Regions from separate parts of the Homo sapiens genome. Here regions 1, 2, 4 and 5 are each linked to region 3. Evidence: promoter capture Hi-C in 16 types of primary human blood cells and fetal thymus (Javierre and others, 2016). All regions are on one chromosome and are shown on one strand. The core of a region is centred on a gene start or on the middle of the fragment in contact, and the rest is flanking DNA. Distances in the headings are between cores, read along the strand shown. Region 1 overlaps PTPN12 (protein tyrosine phosphatase non-receptor type 12). Region 2 overlaps CCDC146 (coiled-coil domain containing 146). Region 3 holds the start of GSAP (gamma-secretase activating protein). Region 4 overlaps CCDC146 (coiled-coil domain containing 146). Region 5 overlaps PTPN12 (protein tyrosine phosphatase non-receptor type 12).

What was found. Contacts are between HindIII fragments. The CHiCAGO score rates a contact against its expected background, and 5 or more counts as called.
Region 1: a fragment that was not itself captured here is called in contact with the fragment with the promoter of GSAP in region 3 in 11 of 17 cell types (monocytes, M0 macrophages, M2 macrophages and 8 more); the score reaches 15.6 in monocytes.
Region 2: a fragment that was not itself captured here is called in contact with the fragment with the promoter of GSAP in region 3 in 4 of 17 cell types (total CD8 T cells, M0 macrophages, activated CD4 T cells and 1 more); the score reaches 5.7 in total CD8 T cells.
Region 4: a fragment that was not itself captured here is called in contact with the fragment with the promoter of GSAP in region 3 in 1 of 17 cell types (total CD8 T cells); the score reaches 5.1 in total CD8 T cells.
Region 5: a contact is called between a fragment that was not itself captured here and the fragment with the promoter of GSAP in region 3, in 15 of 17 cell types (M1 macrophages, M2 macrophages, M0 macrophages and 12 more). The highest score is 22.1, in M1 macrophages.

What each region holds. Positions count from the first base shown.
Region 1 is chr7:77,588,971-77,591,670 of GRCh38, forward strand. The region is part of intron 5 of PTPN12 (protein tyrosine phosphatase non-receptor type 12); the gene reads left to right. Among named protein-coding and RNA genes, the nearest start is that of PTPN12, 53 kb to the left of the region's middle. The HindIII fragment of the contact is 4,209 bases long and covers 1-2,700 here.
Region 2 is chr7:77,193,004-77,195,703 of GRCh38, forward strand. All of the region lies in intron 2 of CCDC146 (coiled-coil domain containing 146), which reads left to right. FGL2 (fibrinogen like 2) reads right to left here. Exons shown (of 2, transcript NM_006682.3): 2 at 366-2,700. Among named protein-coding and RNA genes, the nearest start is that of FGL2, 5.5 kb to the right of the region's middle. The HindIII fragment of the contact is 429 bases long and covers 1,084-1,512 here.
Region 3 is chr7:77,415,083-77,417,782 of GRCh38, forward strand. GSAP (gamma-secretase activating protein) reads right to left here and starts at 1,267. Exons shown (of 31, transcript NM_017439.4): 1 at 1,131-1,267. The coding sequence starts at 1,239. It overlaps LOC101927243 (a long non-coding RNA gene), which reads left to right and starts at 116. Exons shown (of 5, transcript NR_110073.1): 1 at 116-266. RefSeq lists silencers at 433-722, 783-992, 1,213-1,562. The HindIII fragment of the contact is 1,753 bases long and covers 716-2,468 here.
Region 4 is chr7:77,250,656-77,253,355 of GRCh38, forward strand. All of the region lies in intron 4 of CCDC146 (coiled-coil domain containing 146), which reads left to right. LOC102723791 (a long non-coding RNA gene) reads right to left here. Exons shown (of 6, transcript XR_927688.3): 6 at 2,148-2,222. Among named protein-coding and RNA genes, the nearest start is that of CCDC146-AS1, 3.3 kb to the left of the region's middle. The HindIII fragment of the contact is 3,661 bases long and covers 1-2,700 here.
Region 5 is chr7:77,633,220-77,635,919 of GRCh38, forward strand. It overlaps PTPN12 (protein tyrosine phosphatase non-receptor type 12), which reads left to right. Exons shown (of 18, transcript NM_002835.4): 15 at 2,563-2,630. Among named protein-coding and RNA genes, the nearest start is that of APTR, 62 kb to the right of the region's middle. The HindIII fragment of the contact is 5,173 bases long and covers 1-2,700 here.

The sequences.
Region 1 (2,700 bases), core at 98-2,597, 170 kb after region 3:
CAGGTATATTTCCTGTCTCAGCCTCCCGAGTAGCTGGGACTACAGGCGCCTACCACCATGGCTCAGCTCATTTTTGTATTTTTAGTAGAGATGGGGTTTCACTGTGTTGGCCAGGCTGGTCTCGAACTCCTGACCTCAGGTGATCCGACCGCCTTTGTCTCCCAAAGTGCTGGGATTACAGGCATATAATCCCATGTAATCCACCGCACCAGGCCTGAATATCTTGATTAGTCTGTTTGTTAATACCACAGTATGTTTTGTTTGTTTCCTATCTTCAAAACTGAGAGAAGATAATTTCTTACCCTGATTTTCTAACATTGGTATTTTTATGCTATGTCGAAGTAAAATTTATTTCAAAGCTATTCTGGTATCCTACAGCATCATATTCTGTCCTCACTGTAGGAGGTAATGATATATTTACAGATAATTCATATTTAAATAAAACTTATAAAGTGTGGTCTTCTATAAATATGGCATACAAATCAAACTTACAAATTACATAGTGATTTTATTTGAAGTTTTTTAATACTAATGTAGTTAATATATTTAAAATTATCTTTAGTTTGTAAATATGTTAATTTTTTCAGTAAGCAATATATTGCAAAAGATACATCTTTCAGTTATATTACATAAATAATTGGGAAGCCTTAATTTATTCCATTACTCCCAACTATTTCCTATGTCAGTATTAAGTAATGTTGGACAGAAAGTGAATAAAATGAGAAAATATAAAAACTGAGAAATTATTAAGTAATCAAGTTATCTATTTAAGGGTTGTCAATATATACATTAATATTATTAATCAATTGTCTAAGAGAATTTAAATGTCATTCTCCTAATGTTTTAAGTTACTGTTAAGGTTTAGGATGTATTTCTCTTTTCATTATATTAGTAAGCTCATAGTATGTATCAAGTTATTGATGAAAAATCAAGTAGCATTGAGTACATAATTTTTTGAAGCGAAAGGTTTTTGTGATTCACTGTGTCTTATTAGTAATAGATTATGAGCAAGTTAGGAACTATGAAATTATCTGATAACCTTGACTTTGATCTTGACTTTGAATGTGACCTGGTGGAAAAAGCATAGATAATTAAATCAGACAAACCTACCTTTTACAAGCATTTTGACCATGGTGCAGTACAGTTCACTCTGAGCTTCAGTTTCCTCACATTTGAAAGGAAATAATACCCACCTTGCAGTGTTAGAGATTATGTATGTATGATATTTAACACATAGTTTTTGATATCATTATTAGTTTTATACCAGGAATATAAGTACCAATATAATCTTATTACTGCTCATCTGAATGAGGGGCATTGTTAGTCACACCGCTTTCTATTCTTAACTAAATTAATCTCTTACAACTTGTTTTCTATCTGTTTCAAAGTATTAAAGTTTTGTCAGGTAAAAGATTAAAAAAATGTTTTTTAAACTCTCAAAAATAATTTAAGGTCCAAGTGTAAGTATAGTGGCTCACACCTGTAATCCCAGCTACTTGGGAGGCTAGGGTGGGAGAATTGCTTGAGCCCAGGAGTTTGAGACCAGCTTTGGCAACATGGCAAGACCCCATCTCTATTTTTTTTAAATCTTTTTTTTTTTTTTGTGGGGAGAGACAGTCTCGCTCTGTCGCCCAGGCTTGAGTGCAGTGGCACAATCTCAGCTCTTTGCAACCTGCATCTCCCAGGTTCAAACGATTCTCATGTCTCAGCCTCCTGAGTAGCTGGGATTAAAGGCATGTGCCACCATGCCTGGCTAATTTTTTTGTATTTTTGAGTAGAGACAAGGTTTTGCCATGTTGGCCAGTCTGGTCTTGAACTCCTTGCCTTAAGTCATCCACCCACGTTGGCCTTCCAAAGTGCTGGGATTATAGGCATGAGCCACCACGCCCGGCCTCCATCTATTAAAAAAAAAAAAAATTAGCCGGTTGTGGTGGCACACGCCTGTGGTCCCAGCTACTCAGGAGGCTGAGGTGGGAAGATCACTTGAGCCCAGAAGGTAGAGGCTGCAGTGAGCCGTGATTGCACCACTGCACACTCCAGCCTGGGTGACAAAGTGAGACCCTATCTAAAAAAAGAGAGAATTTAATTTAATCATTTTCTGTAAACATCTCTTGGAAAATGAGATTTGGAAGTTACCTGTGTTTTTAAGCCTCTAAAATGTTAGCTAACCCAACATACCAGACAGTTCTACTTTGTTTCTCTGTGAGCATTACTGTCAACTTATAGTTCATTCAGCCTATAGGTAATAACTCCATTTACTGTATTTGGAACTGTGAAGATTTAATTAGGAATTCATTAACCAATGCATTTCCCACTGCTTAAAAGGTTTATTTAAGCTAGATGGTCACTTAGAGACTTTGATTTTATTGGGCCTTGATACAAATTGCATCATTTCTTAATACCTGAATCATTCTATTTTCCATAAAGTTAGGCTTTTCATTCACTTAACTGATTTTCTAAAATGATGAGGTGCTTGATATTAGAAACTGATGAAAATTTATCATTCTTTTTCTATACCTGTTTAAAATAGGAAGGTAAGAGGAGAAATTATTTGACTACACTTTCTGTAATCTCTAATAAAATTGAATAGTTAATACATCATGTTTGTGTAGGGCTTTTACCATCTGTGGTACATTTGAAATACACTGTTATTTAACAAACATGCAACAACTCTGTAAGATAAGGATTATTATTCCTATT
Region 2 (2,700 bases), core at 48-2,547, 220 kb before region 3:
AGAATTGTACTTTTGAACAATCCCCCTGGTAGGGATGAAAGTTGGACTGGAATAGACTGAAACCAGAGGTACAGACTATTCAGATGCGTTTGTGTTGTCCTAAGGAGATGAAGAGGGCTAACCAGAGCAGCAACACTAATAACGGAAAAAGAGGAGAGGAAGTTGAATGCCACAAAATGAAACTGAAACTTTTGTATTTCAAATGTTTCAACAGTATTCTAGAGGGAAGTAAGATAATGGTGTTCCTCTATTTGCCTCTGACTTCTTGTTAATGAAATAGTACTCATTAAAGTCTTCAGAGTCACAGATATTGTATAGCTGAGGTAAGCATTTTACAACTTTTCAGACACAAGTAAGTACATAAATATTATTTTACAACCAACAATATTTAATATTTCCACATTGAAGAATAGATGTGATAATTAAATCTTTTATAAGGTTTTAAAAAGACATGAAACATAAACCTAATTATACATAAAAGAAAAGAATTTTAAACAAGAGCTTATTGTGATGACATTACTCATAACTTTTACCTTTAAAACCTTTTCTTGGGTAGCTATTCAAAAGTAAAGACCACAAGTTTTGTTGCCCAGATTTCTTATGTTTTGTATATTTAAGCTCTTTATTTATTGAACAGATGTGTCATTAATTCATTTGGAGCATTACTATTATCAGTAAAATTTGATTTTTTTTTCCCCTCAGTCATAGGTAAATCAGCTCCACCTGGAATTTCTAAGGACCCAGTTTTAGTCAATATTTTCAAGTAATCATGACCTCAGAAATAGTCTTAATTAAGATAACAAATATTAGCCATCAAAATGGAACCAAGACAAGATTCTAATGTTTGTAAACAGTCAATCCATATTTATGAATATTAGCATATATTGGTGAATAGTTAAGGCAAAAGGTTCTAGCAGATGTAATCTATTTCCATCAACATGTTAAATGTTATAAAAGTCTAGAATTATTGGTAACATGAAATGATTCCAAAATGGAATTTCTGTGTTACAGAATTTACTAGAAAAGTGCTGTGAAAGTATAATGAAAAATAAAGTGATCCCTTGAAATAATGTGGATAGAACAAGCTTTTGAATATTTACATGGATTAATGAATTATTTGCCAAATTCTCCTGAAGTTATACCTAGTTCCCATTAAATTAATGGACACCGTGTATATGAGCATATACCTTTCTTTAGAACTATGTTTTGTGATAAGTCCATTTTTACTCACAGGAATTTACTTAAACTTGTACATATATTAATTATATATACTAAATGACAATGACCTTATCTGAAACAAATACATTGTATAATATCAAAACGTTTTTAGTCTTTTTTAAAAAGTAAAAAGTAAAAAACAACGTCAGTTACATCATTTACATTTGGTATCCCACCTAATAGAGACACAGCTTTTGAAATCTACAATATTTTACATTTTGGTCATCATTTAATGCTATTTGCATTTCTCTTTAACATTTTAATAGTATTTGTGATATATCATGTTTAACTGAAAGCTTTGGGTTATATATTTTAAAGGAATATCTTACTTTTTGACTAAATAGTTCTGTAAGGGCCTAATATTTGAAAAATTAGCTTGTTACCTGAAGCAACTATCCTCCTTAATCATTTTAAAATAATGGGTAAAGATGCATCTTTGTAAATATATTTTGAAAACTTGGTTAGTGTATTAGAAACAGACACCAGAAATTAAAAAAATTATTTCTAGGACTGGCATACACTACAGTGAATTACTTCAAATGTTACTCTAGAGCATTTTTAAAAATACGCAGAATACTGCTGTTCTCTCTGAGATGATCCCTTTTTACGATGATGAAATTAAACACATTTAAAAAGTCTTTTAAATATTATATATAGCATTCCAGAATTGATGAATTATAAAAATTACAGATACTTCTGTTTGGGTAAAAATCTATCTTTTAGTTTCTGATAGTAAAATAAGCAATCTACCAGCCAGGGTTGAAATATATAGTATTTTAACTACTGTTCTATATATTTCAAAATTCATGTTTTCTATCTGTCCTAGAGAAACTTAGCCTTCTATGAAGTGAATCACTTAATGATATTATTGCTTTGGAGATAAAATTGGCCTCAGAGTATGATAGCCTGTAAGTAAATGCTTCATTACCCACATATCCCTACCCACCCCCCCCAAAAAAACCTACCAGTAGTCTAGTACAGTAGTGAGCAATCTTAAATTAAAAGCTATTGTTCACACAGAGCAGAGGAAGATAATTTTCATGTTAAAGCAGTTTTCAACATCAAACATCTAAGGAGTTATAAACTATAAATGAATTACCTTTAAACCCTGGTCTTCACAGTTACATTGCTTTCTGAATGCTTTTTGGGGTGACATTATGCTACCACATTTTTAAACGGTTTAAATGACAAGTATTTTATATTTCATGAATGATAAATGAACAAGTTTAATTATATAGATATTAGTTCCCTTAGTCTGGGAACCAAAATGCTGTAGGGTTGTTCTGTTGCAAAGTAAATGATATAGATTAAGTTTGTCTCAGAATGAAGATTACCCAAATAATTATAGCCTGAAAAGAGTGATATACCTTCAGATGTGCTTAAATCATGGCCCAAATACAGATTACTTTGTGTAGAATCCAGCCTACTGAATAAATTTTATTATTTTTTTGTTTGAGACAGAGTTTTCTCTGTCACCCATGC
Region 3 (2,700 bases), core at 17-2,516:
ACTAAGCATGACACTAATGCAAACTCAATGCATACGCTACACAAACATATAACTCCTTATTTGGAGCTAATAATATTCCAAGCCAAGGAAACCTACAAATAATTTCGCTATAGTCATAGGAGAGTGTGAAGATACAAGATAGCAACTTGATATATAACTCACATCAAGAAAACTTTCACCAGCGTTTAAGGGAAAGGAGTTGTAGATGTGGGTCATTTAATACCCACTTCCAAATTCACTGAAGTGGACAGCGCCCTACACACAAGGTGAGACCTACAGGCATCATTGCTTTGAAGCTGCATTTAAGCTCTGAAGCTCCAATATTTATAGAAGACTTTTAAAACTTTGTAAGAAATCACAAAGTTCCCCTTCTTTAAAACAGATCAGTGCTGGGAAGGCTCAAAAGTCACTTTCACTCCCTTACCAAATCATCAAAAAGCCCGGAGTGGCAGGGCCGGGAGCCGAGCATCTCGCGCGCAGCCCCAGCCTGCACAGGTGCGGAGCTCGGGGGCGGCTGGGGGCTCTCGCCCCGCCGCGCGCAGCCTGGAGGCGGCCCCTGCCCTCTTGCGCCTCACCGCCGAGGCCCATGTCCCCTGAGCCACGGACACGGTTCAACAGACACATAAACACGTCTCGCAAATGTGGGGACAAACTGTTCCACCGTTAGGTATAGGGTGGTTTGCTTGGTGGTCACGGATTCTTTCTCAAAACGTGAAGCTTCCAGGAGCACTCCTGTCTTGGCAAAGCCCCTGCGCTGCCGATGAACCCCCCGGGAGGTGGGATGCGGCCGCTGAGCTGAGCACGACCCTCTGCCCTCGCCGTGAGGTGATGCTGAGGGAACCGCCAGCGGCCCGGCCCCTCTGCCAAGGGCGAATTTCCGCGGGCCGGCAGCGAGCCAGGCGCCTCAGGCCCCACGGCGACCTGGCCCGGGCTCTGCCCCCAGACCTTCCGCCGTGGCTGGGTGTGGGTGGCAAAGCCAAAACAGCCCTCTGAGGAGGGGAGCGACGCCCTCGCACCAGCCTTCTCAGGGCGGCGACGCCCCGGGTTGCTCCCCACCGGGTCGGAGTCCGGGGGGTATGAGGGACTCCCACTCCCCGCCCCCACCCCTCTCCGCAGCGCGCCTCCCGCACCTGCGCCGCCGCTTCCGGCCCCGCTGGCCTCCGACACTGCCCGCTGCGCCCGCAACCACGGGAGCACGTCCTTCCCGAGGTCGAAGTCGGCGACCAGGCGAAGAGCCATCGCCCGGACACGACCACCGGGCGGCTCTGGGGCCCCGCACCGCGGGCATTCCCGGCCCCGCGTGGCCGCCTCGCCCTCGCGTCCCCGCTCCCGCCCCCTCTTTCCTCTCCCCCGCCCCCTGCTGCTTTCGGTTCTGCAGCGCCCTGGCCTGAGAAGCTCCGGCACCAGCTCCTCCCGGCCGGCGGCCCGCACCTGAGCCGGAGCCGGAGCCGGGCACGGCGGGTAGCGGTGGGGCGGGGTGGACCAGGCGCCAGGACCAGGCCCGCCGGGGCGGGAGGCCTCCGCGCGCACCTTCGGGGCTGAGGATAGAGGGCGCAAAGACGTGGGCGCTTCAGGGCCTTGGCGAGGCCGCTAGCCCAGTGGCTTCCAAACCTGGAGGGTCGGCCTATTTTCTTTATTCTACAAGTGCCTCCACTGTGCAGCAAAGTGTGGAAACCACTTGGCTTGAGAGAGCTGGGTCCTCTGGAGCAGTTCAGGGTCACCACAGAAGTAGGCCGTCTCTTGGGCCTATTCGCCCCAGCTTCGAGGTGGTGGTGCTTTATTAGTGTTATTAAGGTAATGAGTAGCAACTGGGAGCGTATGACGAAGGTGATCCCATTGTAAGAGAAACGCTAAAAGGGGTTAATGCGCTTGATACAAACAGCGTCCTTTTTGCCTTTTAACTCTAGTACATCTCATTTGATGCCTTGAGACATGAAAACTGAATCTTAAGTCTCCACGCAAACCCTCTGCCTCCCACCAGGGTCTAACAGAGCACTCTGGAAGGTGCTCGACAATTACTGAAGAATGAGTGAATACAGTAATAAAGAATGCTTTTTCACATGCTTCCGAAATTAAGGTCTGAAAACTACTTGTATTGACGTCATCTGGGGCACTATTTTACAATGCAGACTCCTGATCTCTACACCTGGACAAGACCAGAAACGTGCATTTTACCCAGAGCCTCGGGTGATTCTTAGGCTTACTAAGTTTGAAAACTACTCCAACCAAATGTAAAAGAAAGTCTTGAATTTTTTTCCCTCCTAGAGACATGTTTCTCCAACTGAGGTAATGGATGATTTCAGGTAGAACTCCATTACTCACCACCATATACAGAGGAAAGTCCTCCCACCCGGGAAGTGCATGCAAATTTAAGATAAATGCCTAATGAAGCTGCTAATATTATCAGTGAATAAAAGGAAGGCCACTGGAGCCCCCAAGGAGCTAATGCAACTATTTCATATCAAATAAGCTTGTTGCCTTTGTCATACAGAAACACTGTTGGCCAATTTTTTAAAGTCAGTACATTTCCATTGTTTTTATTTTTGCAGTTAACTTCTATTTTTGCCAGGCAGGACTGATTTTATAGTCAAGCAGTGATGATATAAAAAATTCTCTTCAAATTAAGTGAAAAAGCCAATGTAAAGAAGGTGAGAAACAATAAGATAATGATAGAAAGATGTGGCCAAAATCATGAGGGTG
Region 4 (2,700 bases), core at 167-2,666, 160 kb before region 3:
CTTCCTCGATCTGTAGTTTATTTTCCTGCATTAATTTGAAGGAAATTCTCAGACATTATTGCTTCAGGAATTTCTCGTGTTCCTTTCTTTCTTCTCCTGGTATTCCTCTTATGAGTATTTATGCCTTTTGTAGTTGTCCCAGAGTTCTTGGATATTCTGGTATTTTCCTAGTCTTTTTTTTTTTTTTTTCCAGTTTGGGTAGTGTCTAGTAAGATATCCTCAAGCTCAGAGATTCCTTCCTCAGCCAAGTTCGTTCTGTTAGTAAGCCTATTAGAGGCATTCTTCATTTCTGATACAGTGATTTTGATCTCTGGTATTTGTGTGTGTGTGTGTGTGTGTGTGTGTGTGTGTGTGTGTGTGTGTGTGTGTGTTTGGTTGTTTGTTTTTGAGACATAGTCTCACTCTGTCCAGGCTGGAGTACAGTGGCACAATCTCGGCTCACTGCAACCTCTGCCTCCCAGGTTCAAGATAATCTCCTGCCTCAGCTTCCTGAGTAGCTGGGATTACAAGTGGCCGCCAATACGCCCAGCTAATTTTTGTATTTTTTGTAGAGATGGGATTTCACCATATTGGCCAGGCTGGTCTTGAACTCCTGACCTCAAGTTATCTGCCCGCCTCAGCCTCCCAAAGTGCTGGGATTACAGGCATGAACCACCATGCCTGGCTGAGTATTTCTTTTTTATTATTTCTTAGAATTTCCTTCTCTCTACTTAAACTGCCCATTTCGGGATTGAGTTTATCTGTTAGCGTTCTTAGCCTATTAGTCATAGTTGTTTTAAATTCCTGATAATTCACACATCCCTGCCATATCTGGTTCTGATGGTTGCTCTGTCTCTTCAGATTGTGTTTTTTGCCTTTCAGTGTGCCTTGCAGTTTTTTTCTTGATAGCCAGACACGATGTACTGGGTAAAAGGAATTGCTTTAAATAGGACTTCAGGAACATGGTGGTAAGGTGTGGAGGGAGGGGAGCATTCTACAGTGTTGTGATTAGGTCTCAGTAGCAGAGGTCATATGTAATGGGAGCCCACAGGAGCCAAAATTCTGGGGGAAGGGAACCTTTGGAGCTGTGATTCTCAAGAGAATTAAAAAGTCTCTTTTGCTCGCTCGCTCTTGTGCTCTTTCTCTCACACAGATGTCAGTAAATTTGAAGATAAAAATTGTCCAATCTGAACAGAGAGAAAAAAATTTTGAATAAAAATGAACAGATCCATGGCCGGGCGCAGTGGCTCACGCCTGTAATCCCAGCACTTTGGGAGGCCGAGGCAGGCAGATCACCTGAGGTCAGGAGTTCAAAACGAGGCTGGCTAACATGGTGAAACCCCGTCTTTACTGAAAATACAAATATTAGCTGGACGTGGTGGCACGTGCCTATGGTCCCAGCTATCCAGGAGGCTGAGGCAGGAGAATTGCTGGAACCCACAAGGTAGAGGTTGCAGTGAGCCGAGATCATGCCACTGCACTCCAGCCTAGGGAACAGAGCGAGACTCCATCTCAAAAACAAACAAACAAAAACAGATCTATAGGCATCCATGAGACAATAACAAAATATCTAATTTATGTCACTGGAGTTGCAGTAAGAGAAGAGAAGGTATATGATTATGAAAAAAATTGGAAGAAGTAATGGCTGAAAACTCCCCATGTTTGGTGAAAGAAAAGTCCACAGATTCAAAAAGCTCAATGAGCCCCAAACAGGGTAAACTCAAAGAAATATGTTCCAAATGCATCACAGTAAAACTTGAAAATTAAAAATGAAGAAAAAATCTTGAAAGAAGCAAGAAACGGGCTTCAAGAATGACGCTCATGTTTATAATTTTGAAAATTAAGTGAATTGAAATGCCATTACCAAAAGAAGGAATAGAAAAACAGTAGGTTTCAGATGGGAAGATAATGAGTTTTAATTTGATGGGCCTTTGATATACACAACTGGAATTGCCCAGTAAGAAATTAAACATAAAAATTTGGAGCTCCAGGGAAATTCTGAACTGGAAATAAGGATGTTTAACGCATCACTGTAACTGGCACTGTGGAAACGGTATACAGAATAAGAAAAGGAGAAGTTAGGCTTCAGCTAGACTATGCAATAAGAACAAATCTTAAAATCTCAGCAGAAGAACTCAATGGAATTTTGTTTCTCACTCATAGCACAGTCCAGTGCAAGTCATGCAGCCACGTCTGTCCTTAGCTTTGCCAGCGGGAGCACGTGCCTTCCAAGTTCAACATGGCTGGGGAAGACATTTGTTACTTACTTCCACTCACCTTCCTTGGGCAAATTAGTCCAATGGCTCCAATCCAAATGCAAGGGAGACTGTGAAATATAGTCCCCCTGTGTGTCCAGGAAGGGAAAATGGTGCAGCAAACAATGCCAATGTGTCTGTCACAAGGGCCAAAGGCAGATCCTTATAAACTTAGCCAATGACAGGATAGAAGTGTAGACAAGGTGTGCCCACCTGGACTGCTTATGAGTTCATGCCACAATTTTAATAGCTTGTAGTGGAAACAAAAGTGAAAATAATTGTCCTCAAATACCCATACCTAATAACCACTTAGACTTGGCTCCTGGTCTAAATCTGCCCTTCACCTGAAATATCCATTCAGTCTCTTATGTATCCATGTCCCTATCACATCTGGATCTCTGTCAAGTTTCCTCTGGCTCTAGCATTCGTTATACCTCAGGAATGCAATTGTCACACAAAACTGAAA
Region 5 (2,700 bases), core at 125-2,624, 220 kb after region 3:
AGATCACACTATTGCACTCCAACCTGGGCAACAAGAGCGAAACTCCATCTTAAAAAAAAAATGCAATTATAAGTGTATTTGCAATCTGGTGTATTTTCATTCATTAAAAATAGCACTTATTGACTCATGCCTGTAATCCTGCCACTTTGGGAGACCAAGGCGGGCAGATCACGAGGTCAGGACATCAAGACCATCCTGGCTAACACACTGAAACCCTGTCTCTACTAGAAATACAAAAAATTAGCTGTGTGTGGTGGCATGCACCAGTAGTCCCAGCTGCTCGGGAGGCTGAGGCAGGAGAATCGCTTGAACCCCGGAGGCAGAGGTTGGAGTGAGCCGAGACCATGCCACTGCACTCCAGCCTGGGCAACAGAGCAAGACTCCATCTCAAAAAAAAAAAAAGTAGCACTTATTTATGAAAACATTAATTGCTTTCCTTAGATTTAGGTCAGTAAACATTTCTGTTGGGTGGGCGTCACTGGATTGGTGTTAACTGAAAGACATTTAACACCACTGGAGTAGACTGAGCACATTGGCTCATACCTGTAATCGCAGCACTTTGGGAGTCCAAGGCGCGAGGATTGCTTGAGCCTAAGAGTTTGAGACCAGCCTGGGCAACACAGTGATACCTCCTCTCTTCTAAAAATAAAATAACTGTCCAGTTGTGGTGGTGGGCGCCTGTAATCCCAGCTGCTTGGGAGGCTGAGGCAGGAGAATTGCTTGAACCCAGGATGCAGAGGTTGCAGCGAGCTGAGACCACGCCATTGCATTCCAGCCTGGGCAACAAGAGCAAAAAACTTTGTCTCAAAAAATAATAATAACAACAAAAAATTAGCCAGGTGTGGTGGCATGTGCCTGTAGTCCTTGCTACTCAGGAGGCTGAAGAAGAAGGATTGCTTGATCCCTGTAGTTGGAGGCTGCAGTGAGCCATGATCGCACCACTGTACTCCAGTTTGGTAACAGTGAGACCCCGTCTGTGGAAGAAAAAAAAAAGACCACTGGAGTATCAGAACTGGGAGAAAGTGATGATACTTTAAAACATTGATAATATACTTCTCCCTATTAATCCTCTAAAAAAGAGTGCAGAAACAGCTTGATTGTATTTACAGTGTCTCATGCTCAGTGGAGGTGCTCACTTGTCTAAGTACATTTTACCAATATATTAATTTTGACTGATTTTTGTTTTGTTTCATTTGGTTTTCTTTTTATTTATTTATTTTTTATTTATTCATTTTTTTGAGATGGAGTCTCATTCTGTCGCCCCGGCTGGAGTGCAGTGGCACGATCTCGGCTCACTGCAAGCTCCACCTCTTGGGTTCATGCCATTCTCCTGCCTCAGCCTCCCATGTAGCTGGGACTACAGGTGCCTGCCACCACACCCGGCTTATTTTTTTGTATTTTTTTTAGTAGAGACAGGGTTTCACCGTGTTAGCCAGGATGGTCCATCTCCTGACCTCATGATCCGCCCACCTCAGCCTCTCAAAGTGCTGGGATTACAGGCATGAGCCACCACGCCCGGCTAATTTTTTTGTATTTTTTTAGTAGAGACAGGGTTTCACCATGTTAGCCAGGATGGTCTCCATCTCCTGACCTCGTGATCGCCCGCCTCAGCCTCCCAAAGTGCTGGGATTACAGGCGGGAGCCACCACGCCCGGCCTTGTTTTGTTTTATTTCGAGTTGGAGTTCCACTCTGTCACTCAGGCTGGAGTGCAGTGGCACGATCTGGGCTCAAGCTGTTCTCCTGCCTCAGCCTCCTGAGTAGCTGCGATTAGAGGCATACACCGTCACTCCCAACTAATTTTTTTATTAGAGATAGGGTCTCACCATGTTGGCCAGGCTGGTCTTGAACTCCTGACCTCAAGTGATCTGCCTGCCTCAGCCTCCCAAAGTGAATTTTGACTGATTTTAAGATAAATGTTAAAGAGCCAAGCACAATGGCTTATGCCTGTGATCCCAGCACTTTGGGAGACCAAGGCAGGTGGATCTCTGTTCCATTTGCCCTAGGAGTTTGAGACCAGCCTGGGCAACATGGCAAAACCCTGTCTGTATAAAATCAAAAATTAGCCAGGCGAGGTGGCATGCACCTATAGTCCCAGCTACTCAAGAAGCTGAGATGGGAAGATTGCCTGAGCCTGGGAGGTTGAGGCTCCAGTGAGCCGAGATCGCGCCTGGTCAACAGAGTGAGACCCTGTCTCAACAACAATTAAAAAGAATGTTGAAAGCAATGAAACGGTATACTTCAGTTGTCTAAGTCTGTCACGTTGTCTGTAGATTAAGCAGTATACTTCACTTGTCTGTCACATTATCTATAGACTGTAATACACTGATGACTGAATTTATTTACTTAGGTTTTGAAGGAAGGAAACAGAATGTTCTCGAATTAATAGAAACTACAATTTTTTTTTTTTAGAAACTTCAGAAATATGCTTACCCAGAAACTACAAAATTTTTGTGGAAGCGATAGTTTCTAAAATCTTTAGGATCTGTTTTTTGTATTACTTTAATGCAAAGAAATTTCAGAAATTCAAGGTGTTAATAACAATAAGATTTCATTTTTCTCAGATACACCTGTAAGATCGGAATGGAGTGAACTTCAAAGTCAGGAACGATCTGAACAAAAAAAGTCTGAAGTAAGTCCTTTTGGAATTGGAACAGTTATAGCTTAACATTTCTACTCTTTTGTTAACTAATCTTGCAGTT